3 separate regions of the Homo sapiens genome follow, and regions 1 and 2 are each linked to region 3. Evidence: promoter capture Hi-C in human tissues and cell types (Jung and others, 2019). All regions are on one chromosome and are shown on one strand. Each heading gives the region's core, a stretch centred on a gene start or on the middle of the fragment in contact. The rest is flanking DNA. Distances are from core to core; before and after follow the strand shown. Region 1 overlaps HYCC2 (hyccin PI4KA lipid kinase complex subunit 2). Region 2 overlaps HYCC2 (hyccin PI4KA lipid kinase complex subunit 2). Region 3 holds the start of CASP10 (caspase 10).

The links. Contacts are between HindIII fragments. The study calls those that stand out against the background at their distance.
Region 1: a fragment that was not itself captured here is called in contact with the fragment with the promoter of CASP10 in region 3 in 4 of the 25 tissues and cell types used here (IMR-90 fibroblasts, aorta, hippocampus and 1 more).
Region 2: a fragment that was not itself captured here is called in contact with the fragment with the promoter of CASP10 in region 3 in 1 of the 25 tissues and cell types used here (IMR-90 fibroblasts).

What each region holds. Positions count from the first base shown.
Region 1 is chr2:201,021,316-201,024,890 of GRCh38, forward strand. It overlaps HYCC2 (hyccin PI4KA lipid kinase complex subunit 2), which reads right to left. Exons shown (of 13, transcript NM_001321623.1): 3 at 2,644-2,724; 4 at 1,516-1,617. The coding sequence starts at 2,694. Among named protein-coding and RNA genes, the nearest start is that of HYCC2, 49 kb to the right of the region's middle. RefSeq lists an enhancer at 743-912. The HindIII fragment of the contact is 5,479 bases long and covers 1-3,575 here.
Region 2 is chr2:201,001,262-201,004,476 of GRCh38, forward strand. All of the region lies in intron 7 of HYCC2 (hyccin PI4KA lipid kinase complex subunit 2), which reads right to left. All of the region lies in intron 1 of LOC105373835 (a long non-coding RNA gene), which reads left to right. Among named protein-coding and RNA genes, the nearest start is that of ORC2, 39 kb to the left of the region's middle. The HindIII fragment of the contact is 5,990 bases long and covers 1-3,215 here.
Region 3 is chr2:201,181,079-201,184,399 of GRCh38, forward strand. It overlaps CASP10 (caspase 10), which reads left to right and starts at 2,063. Exons shown (of 10, transcript NM_032977.4): 1 at 2,063-2,230. The HindIII fragment of the contact is 16,206 bases long and covers 1-3,321 here.

The DNA.
Region 1 (3,575 bases), core at 333-2,832, 160 kb before region 3:
CTCTAGCAACTGATTGATTATAATGAATGCTGGACCTTGAGCTCGCATCCCTCAAGCTGTAATTTTTCCATTTCTAGCCATGAAACCCCCAAAGTCCCACACATTAATATTACGAAATATGACAACAGAAAGTAATGAGAATAGCTTTTTTAATGTAATAGCTTCTAAAGTATTAAACAAAAAAATAGGAAAGGGATACTTCTTATACACTTGTGAGCCCTAATGAAAATGTCATTTTAGAATCTCATTTTGTACTTCACTGTCCTTCCAATCAATACTATTCTATGTTCATTATGTACATGATAAAATACTAGATTCTCGGGAAGTTACAAATACAGAATATCTGACCACTGCCCATGAAGAGCTTACAATCTAAAGAGAAAGCATTAAAACAAATACATTTTAATAAGCAAAGCTTAAATGTTAAGACAGAGCAAAACAAGGGGTAGGGAATACACACATTCATTATTCAAACAAAGAATTCTGAAAACTCTTGACCATATGGATATGCATATACGTACATTATGCATACCCAGAGTTATAAAACATTCAGAAATACACTGCAAGAGAAAAAGCAAATGAATCCTGCAATTGCTGCTACAAATAGCAACAGATGCAAGTCTAACTGAGAGCCAGTCACAATTTAGGAGACAGGAAAGAAGGAGGTCAATAAGCAAGCTTTTAGTGGTAGGACAAAAATGAAGATGCACTTTAAGTTAAGCTGCTGGTTAGGAGAGGATTACCTGAACTTCTTCAAACTCACTCCAGTACACAGCAGAGGCACTCTTGGAGGCTGTATCTGGGAAGATAAGAAGCTACTTTCCTGTGTGTTCCTTTCATTTTCATTTTAAGCATACATGAATCCAGTGGTGATAAAACTGTATGTCATACTACTGTGTTAATGGAAAGATAATGTGTGTATTTTGCATAAATTAATATACAGATTCAATAACTGTACTTTTTCCTTCTATCACAAGGCTAAATAATACAAAACTCTCATTCTAAGTTTATTGATCTTGACTACTTAGACTAAAAAGTGCTTCCTCTGATCCTTTTCAGGCTAAATTTACTAGCAGCATCATTTTGTGTTATCAGTTTGATTTCACTGACTAGAGTGATTATACCTAGTTATATATTATCAGTAAAATAATTGTAAAAATACTTAAGATAAATAAAGCTGGATCAGTATACAGTTAAAATATGGCTTCCAGAGCAGGAAACATTCCAGAACAGGAAACAGAAAAGTTTCAAATAAATAATCCACTGAGATGATGGTCAATAAAATTAACAATCAAAACATACTGCACACTCAACAGGAAAAAATTTGACCAAAACATTTCAAAATATGGAAAGGCAGGGAATAGGGAAAGCCAAAGCAACTATCAGAATGAAAAACAGCAGAAAGAAAATTTTCCAGATCCACAAGGAAAGAAAATTATAAAACTTAAATTTATGTGTTTTGGTATACATATTTCATTTCACTATGTAGAAATTATTTTTCTTGAGGTCTCCTACCTCATTATTTGAATCTTGAATAACTTTATAGAGGGCTGGTACAAGTGTTTTTTTCCGGTGTAAAGTTGCTGCATAACTGGTGATCTGAGTGTCAGGTAATGCCTAAAAGAAACCACCAAAGGAAAACAAAAGTGAACATTTGAGAAGCAAGGAACTTTATTTTACACAAATAGTTCTTGAACAGATTTATAACAAACTCAAGTGAGAAAAGTAAAAATAATTAATATAAAGAAATAGGCTGGGCACAGTGGCTCACGTCTGGAATCCCAGCAGTTTGGGAGGTCAAGGCAAGCGTATCACTTGTGGTCAGGAGTTCAAGACCAGCCTGGCCAACATGGTGAAACCTGTCTCTACTAAAAATACCAAAAATTAGCCAGGCGTGGTGGCGGGTGCCTGTAATCCCAGCTACTCAGGAGGCTGAGGCAGAAGAATTGCTTGAACCTGGGAGGTGGAGGTTGCAGTGAGCCGAGATCGTGCCACTGCACTCCAGCCTGGGTGACAGAGCGAGACTCCATCTCAAAAAAAAAAAGAAAGAAAGAAGCATCAGAGTTCAAACAAATTAAGTTAGGATGTTATAGTACACAATTCTTCTAACTACTCAACCATAAATACTGATTAGAAATCACACATTATACCAACATTTCCTGAAATGGGCCATCTTAAATTAATCTAATCTTTAAAAAAATGTAGGATGTTTCAATTCTTGCATTTATGTTTTGCCAAAACATTTACAATTCCATAGTATTCATAAATTACATAGTTTTCCATAAAAACTATTTGATTTTTAATTATAGGACAGAAAAACGTAGGCATAAATCCTATTTTTGTGCCTTATTAAAGCTTGATGGATCTTCTCTTTTACTGAATATATTTTAAAATATCGTCTCATCAATCCTAACAACTATTTTCATCTTTATGTATCACCTTCTAGCCATTATTCATATTAGTACCATTTTTAAGAACTGCAATTACAGAAACACGTTATTTTGTATTTTGCCATTTCCACTTCCTACCATATTTTTATGTTTCTCCATAGAGCACATAATGTTTCTCCATAGAGCACATATTCAGTTTGAATTACTGATGTATAGAAAAATATAATACATTCTGATCTCCAATCCAATTTACCTTGAATTCTGATAACCATTCTTCCACAACACAACGGTCAGTTCCCAGCATTTTCTTTTACCTTCTACTCCTCTTTTATCTCTAAAAGAAAAAAGTATTGAAGCTGAGGACAGTAGTACTTATAGGAACAACTAGAAATAAATGATATGTGCCTTTCACCAAGGAAAATTAATCTACTATACATTTTAGATAAGGTGACTTGTCTTAGTTTGGAGCACAATTAAAAGAAAATTTTTCAGAAGTAAGTTCTGGCTGGGCGTGGTGGCTCACACCTGAATCTCAACACTTTGGGAAGCCGAGGTAGGAGAATCACTTGAGCTCGGAGTTCAAGACCAGCCTGGCAACACAGTGAGACCTTGTCTCTACTAAAAATCAAGAAAATTAGCTGGGCATGGTGGCGTGCACATCCAGTCCTAGTTACTTGGTACCCAAAGGTCAGAGCATAACTTGACCACCGGAGATAGAGGCTGCAGTGAGCTATGATCGTGCCACTGCATTCTGGCCTGGGCGACAGAGCCAGACCCTGTCTCAAAAATAAAATAAAAATAAGTTTTATGTTTAATGATACACTTGAAACCTATTATCCTAATGCTTTCATATTTTCTCCAGTAAATACTTCAAACTGGCAAAGACAAGTGTCCTGAGTAAAATCAAGTTGCACATTATCCAGACAAATGCAGTCTACAGTTTTACCAAATACATAACCAGAACAAACTACACATCATAAAATGAACCAAGAGAGTATAAATGACAAAGCTAGATAAACTAGAAACCAAAGGTTACATATTCAGCAAACTGAATATAAACATATATGCACCATACACAATAAGGCCTCTGAAGAAAACAGATCCATAAATTTTCTAAAATGGAAAAACAGCTGGGCACAGTGGCTCATGCCTGCAATCCCAGCACTTTGGGAGGCTGAGGCAGGA
Region 2 (3,215 bases), core at 522-3,021, 180 kb before region 3:
ACACTGAATCTGCTGGCACTTTAAGCTTGTACTTTCGAATCTGCAGAACTGTGAGCAATACATTTCTATCGTTTATATATTACCCAGTCTAAGGTATTTTGTTATAGCAGCCCAAATAGACTAAAGAGAGCAGAGTTATTCATAACAGCCAAAAAAGAAAAAATAGAAATAACTCGAATGTCCATCCACTGATGAATGGATAAATAAAATGTGGTATATCCACACAATGAAATATTATTTAGTTATAAAAAGAAAGTACTGATACATTCTACCACAGAAACAAACCTTGTAAACATGCTAAGTGAAAGAAGCCATACACAAAAGGCAACATATTGTATGGATCCATTCATGTAAAATGTCTAGTAATAAAAACTACTCAATTGTATGCTTTAAAGGGGTAAATTTTATTTCTATTTTTATTTTTTTTTTTGAGACAGAGTCTTGCTCTGCCGCCAGGCTAGAGTGCAGTGGCACAATCTCGGCTCACTGCAACCTCCGCCTCCTGGGTTCAAGTGATTCTCCTGCCTCAGCCACCCAGTAGCTGGGATTACAGGCATGAGCCACCACACCCGGCTAATTTTTGTATTTTTAGTAGAGACAGGGTCTCACCATGTTGGCTAAGCTGGCCTCAAACTCCTGGCCTCCAGTAATCCACCTGCCTCAGCTTCCCAAAGTGCTGGGATTATAGGCATGAGCCACTGTGCCTGGCTCCCTAAAGGGGTAAATTTTATGGTATGTGAATTATATCTCAATTTAAAAAATAAATGTAAAGTCAATAATTAGCTGAAAACGTGCAACATGAAAAACCAGTGTCAATTCCTCAATATTCAAAGAACTATTGCAAGTCACCAGGAAAAAAAAAAAAATACACAGCTCAATAAGAAAAATGGGGCTGGGCACAGTGGCTCACATCTATAATCCCAGCACTTTGGGAGGTCGAGGTGGGAGGACTGCTTGAGCCCAGGAATTTGAGACCAGCCTGGGCAATACAGTGAAACAAACCTCTCCCACCAATCAGCCAAAAAAAAAAAAAAAGGACAAAGGACATGAATATGCAGTTCATAGGTAAAGAAAAACAATAATGAATAACAATGTGACACCAGTTTTTAACTATCAGATTGGTAAAGATTAAAAACTTTGAAAATAATCAGTATTGGGAGTTAGTAGGAGGAAAAACTCTCAAACTACTAGTAGGACATTCAATTGGTATAGTTGCTTTGGCAAGGCTAATTTGACAATATCTACTCCAACTAAAAAAGCAGAGATTCTTTTTTTTTTTTTTGAGATGGAGTCTTCCTCTGTCACCCAGGCTGGAGTGCAGTGGCGCGATCTTGGCTCACTGCAACCTCCGCCTCCCGGGTTCAAGCGATTCTCCTGCCTCAGCCTCCCGAGTAGCTGGGATTACAGGCACCTGCCACCACGCCCAGCTAATTTTTGTATTTTTAGTAGAGACGGGTTTCACTGTGTTGGCCAGGCTGGTTTCGAACTCCTAACTTCGTGATCCACCCACCTCGGCCTCCCAAAGTGCTGGGATTACAAGCGTGAGCCACTGCACCCGGCCACAGATATTATTTAGCGTAACAATTCACTGCTAGGAATTTATCCTATAGATACTTTTCGTGCTCTCACGCAAATGTATGTACAAAAAATGTGTTCCCTGTAATATTGTTTATAGCAGCAAAAAACTGAAAACAATCTAAATTTACTCAATAAGAGACTGGCTAAAAATTGATGGTACATACATAAAATGGAATAATAACTCATCATTAAAAAGAATAAGATATCTATGTGCCACTAGAGAAAGAAATACAAAATTTTTTTAAGAGATTGGGTCTCGCTTTGTTGCCCAGGTTGGAGTGCAGTGGTGCAATCATAGCTTACTGCAGCCTCAAACTCCTGGGCTTGGTCCTCCAGCCTCGGCCTCCAGAGTACCTAGGACCATAGGCATGTATCACCACACTCAGCTATTTTTTAAGAGATCGGGTCTTGCTATACTGTCCAGGCTGTTCTTGAAGTCCTGGCCTCAAGTGATCCTCCCACCTCAATCCATGCACTAGGATTATAGGCATGAACCAATGTGTCCAGCCCAAGACTTATTCTTTAAAAAGCTGGGCTGGGAAGCTGAGGCAGGAGAATAGCTTCAACTAGTGGGGTGAAGGCTGCAGTGAGCTGAGATCGCACCACTGCACTTGTAATCCCAGCACTTTGGGAGGCTGAGGTGGGTGGATCACAAGGTCAGGGGTTCAAGACTAGCCCGACCAAAATGGTGAAACCCCATCTCTACTAAAAATACAAAAATTAGCCAGGCATGGTGGCGTGCGCCTGTAATCCCAGCTACTCAGGAGGCTGAGACAGGAGAATCGCTTGAACCTGGGAGGCGGAGGTTGCAGTGAGCAGAGATCGCGCCACTGCACTCCAGCCTGGGCGACAGAGCGAGACTCCATCTTAAAAAAAAAAAAAAAAGTGAAAACATATCAGCTTAGCAGGTTGGCTGAATTGCATGCAGTTTGCCGCTATGTTTGGGTTTTTTGTTGTTGTTGTTGCTTTTTTTTTTTTTTTTTTTTTTTTGAGATGGATTTCACCCTTGTTGCCCAGGATGCAGTACAGTGGCACAATCTCGGCTCACTGCAAAACCTCTGCCTTCTGGGTTCAAGTGATTCTCCTGCCTCAGCCTCCCGAGTAGCTAGGATTACAGGTGCCCACCATCACGCCCAACTAATTTTTTGTATTTTTAGTGAGACAGGGTTTCACCATGTTTTGGTCAGGCTGGTCTCAAACTCCTGACCTCAGGTGATCCACCCGCCTCAGCCTCCCCAAGTGCTGGGATTACAGGCGTGAGCCACCATGCCTGGCCTGTTTGGGTTTTTATCAGCTTATGAGTGGTGGCCAGTGGCCTGGCCATGTGGTCAGGCAGAAGGGTAATATAAAACTGGCCTAATAAAGGGGTGCCTGTATGGAAAAAAACAGGCATATGGAAATCACTATGGGAATTTGAAGCGTGCATAAGTAGGATATGTCAATGCACATCAGGAGAACTCCCTTCTAGAATCAGGTGACTGGCACCTATGGGCAAATATCCCTGTGTAGCCACCTGGAGTGATCACTTGGGTCCATGAAATGAGTGGACATGGTGGTACTGCAGCAATGCAGAGATGGGTTGAATTTAGACATATTTTTTGTACCCTCTGAGGCATAAAATGCCAATAAAACAGACA
Region 3 (3,321 bases), core at 813-3,312:
CCTGGTCCCAACAGAACAGGCAAAGAAGGTGGTCCCTACACTCTTTATGGTCAGTTGGGGCCCCCTCCTCACTCTGCTGCAGCATTCTAGGGTCAGGGCCCCACCTTCCCTGGAACTGGGGTAGTGAGTAACCCAGCCTGCTGTGCTCCGGCCCCCCTTTCCCAAGAAGGTTTTTTTTTTTTTTTTTTTTGAGAGAGTCTTTCTCTGTCGCCCAGGCTGGAGTGCAATGGCACGATTTTGGCTCACTGCAACCTCTGCCTCCCGGGTTCAAGCGATTCTCCAGCCTCAGCCTCCTAGTAGCTGGGATTACAGGCATGTGCCACCAAGCCTGGCGAATTTTATGTTTTTAGTTGAGATGTGGTTTCACCATGATGGCCAGGCTGGTCTTGAACTCCTGACCTCAAGCAATCTGCCCACCTCAGCCTCCCAAAGTGCTGGGATTACAGGTGTGAGCCACTGTGCCTGGCCAGGACTTGTCTTTTTCTTTTCTTTTTTTTTTTGAGAAGGAGTCTTGCTCTGTAGCCCAGGCTGGAGTGTGATGGCGTGATATCCGCTCACCGCAACCTCCACCTCCTGCCTTCAAGCGATTATCCTGCCTCAACCTCCCGAGCAGCTAGGATTACAGGTGTGTGCCACCACGCCCAGCTAATTTTTTGTATTTGTAGTAGAGACAGCGTTTCACCATCTTGGCCAAGCTGGTCTCGTGATCCGCCTGCCTCAGCCTCCCAAAGTGCTGGGATTACAGGCGGGAGCCACTGCACCTGGCCCCAGGACTTGTCTTTCTTAAGCACAGAAGTTCTCTGAATGATGCCTAGGACATGGAAAGGACATTTTAATACATTTGCTAATCAAAGCATCATAAATCTTGCTTTTTTTCCCCATAGATAAAACATCTTTCTAAGACTCTGTACCTCTTTCCAGAGTGCTGCACATTTGAGTTAGCTTAATTATAGTGTAGTGACTTTGATCCAAACTTGCTGGTTTAAATCTTGGCTCTTCCAGCCGCTCACTGTGTGACCTTGGGCAAATTAATTAACCTTTCTGTGCCTTAGTTTTCACATGTTAAAGCAGCAGTCATAGTAATAGTATTTATCTTACAGTGTTGTTGGGATGGTGAAATGAGTAAATATTTGTAAATGCCCTGGCACATGGTAGTTGCAATATTAGTGTGCAGTATTGTTTTTATGATTAGAAATAATGTCTTCAAAGTCTCACTTTCCTGCTGGTTTGAATGTGCTGTGAGAACACATACTGTCAGTTTTGCCTACCACAAATTTGTTGAGTCTCTTGCAGGTACCTCCAAATGGGCTTGTAATTCACCATCCCCACTTTTCTTTTTTTTTTCCTTTCTTTTTCTTTTTATTTCTTAATTTCTCCCACAAAGACTGAAAGTGAATCCCCACTTTTCTTTTATCTTTTAAAAATTTTATTTGTGGGCCGGGCACGGTGGCTCCATGCCTGTAATCCCAGCACTTTGGGAGGCCAAGGAGGGTGGATCACAAGCTCAGGAGTTCGAGACCAGCCTGGCCAACATGGTGAAACCTCGTCTCTACTAAAAATACAAAAAATTAGCCGGGCGTGGTGGCGCATGCTTGTAATCCCAGCTACTCGGGAGGTTGAGGCAGGAGAATCACTTGAACACAGGAGGCAGAGGTTGCGGTAAGTGGAGATCGCTCCATTGTTTATTTGCATGTGGACATAAGAAAGGGTTAACATGGCCGACAACTATTTCATGAGCTTTTTGGCTTTATTTGAAAAGTGAAGTGTGTTTGGGGAAGGAGTTGGTTAGGAAAACAGATGCTTCCCTTTTTGACTTACCAAGGAAATGGAGATCCAAAGGAAAGCCTGAAGCACTTTGTGGCTTCCACGGGTTCGTTTCTAGGAAGCTTTTGCTTTACCTGGGGAAACCCCAAGCTCTACAGTGAGAAAGTTGTAAATTAGCCTTTAGGAGACGCTGTTTGTCAAAGTTATCTTAACCCTGGAAAAGGGGAGGGAAAAAGGCAGATAAGCAGTGATGACATCAGCAGGAAACTAGTATCAGGCTACCCAGTCCTGAAGATTCAGTTTTCACTTAAACAACCAGCAAGTCTTGAAGTCTCTTCCCAAGCAAATGGGAGCTTCTTTGGACCTTGGAGCACACAGAGGATTCTACTTTCTTTAAAACTTTGTTTTCAGGCAATTTCCCTGAGAACCGTTTACTTCCAGAAGATTGGTGGAGCTTGATCTGAAGGTATGTAATTAACAACCCTTCTTACTCCAGAGTCTCATGCTTGAATCTTTTCCTTTGCTTCATGGCTTCGTGTTGTAGAAACTTGCAAAAACTTGTCAGCAATGGCACTATTTTTTCTTAGATTTCTTTGTCATGCCTGGGAAAACAAAAGTTAAAAAATCCGGAAGCCTCCAACATAGCCTTTTACCGGGGCAGAAATATGTTAGCTCACAGAGACAAAGTTTGGTAGACTCACTAAAACTAGAGATCAGAATTGTCAAGAAACCACAAGGCAAATGCTAGATGCGGTAGAATAGAAAGGTGTCTCCAATAAACCACTCATTTGACCTCAGGGCTAGTAGCAGGGAAGATCCCCTGGATTATCACATTAAAAATGACATTTTTTTGTTTCTTTTAACACCAAAAGTAATGTGTATGCTCACATATGCATAAAATTTGAGAAATTCAATTGGAAGCCCAGAAGGAAATTTGTATTATCTATAGTTATGTCACCTCGATATAACCACTGTTTGTTATGGAGGTTTTGATTTTTGCTGTGTCTTCCTTCCTTTATTTATTTATTTATTTATTTATTTATTTATCTATTTATTTATTTGAGACGGAGTCTCCCTCTTTCACCCTCCAGCACTCAAGCTGGAGTGCAGTGGCACAATCTTGGCTTACTGCAACTTCCGCCTCCCAGGTTCAAGCAATCCTCCCATCTCAGCTTCCTATGAAGCTGGGACCACAGGCATACACCACCAAGCCCAGCTAATTTTTGTATTTTTTGTAGAGACGGGGTTTCACCGTGTTGCCCAGGCTTGTCCCGAATTCCTGGCCTCACAGTGATCCACCTGCCTCAGTCTCCTGAAGTGCTTCTCTGATTATAATGAAATTTAGTATGTAGAATACCATAGTTTATAGACTAGTCAGATGGAAACATTGACTCATGTAATTTTTATCTTCCTTCGCTGATTTGAGCAACTCTTGTCTAAAATCACCCTTTCCTTCTGAGGTCTAGGAGGTTTTTTTGTTGTTGTTTTGTTTTGTTTTTGAGGCAGGGTCTTGCTCTGTCACCCAGGGTGGAGTGCAGTGGCACAATCATGGCTCAC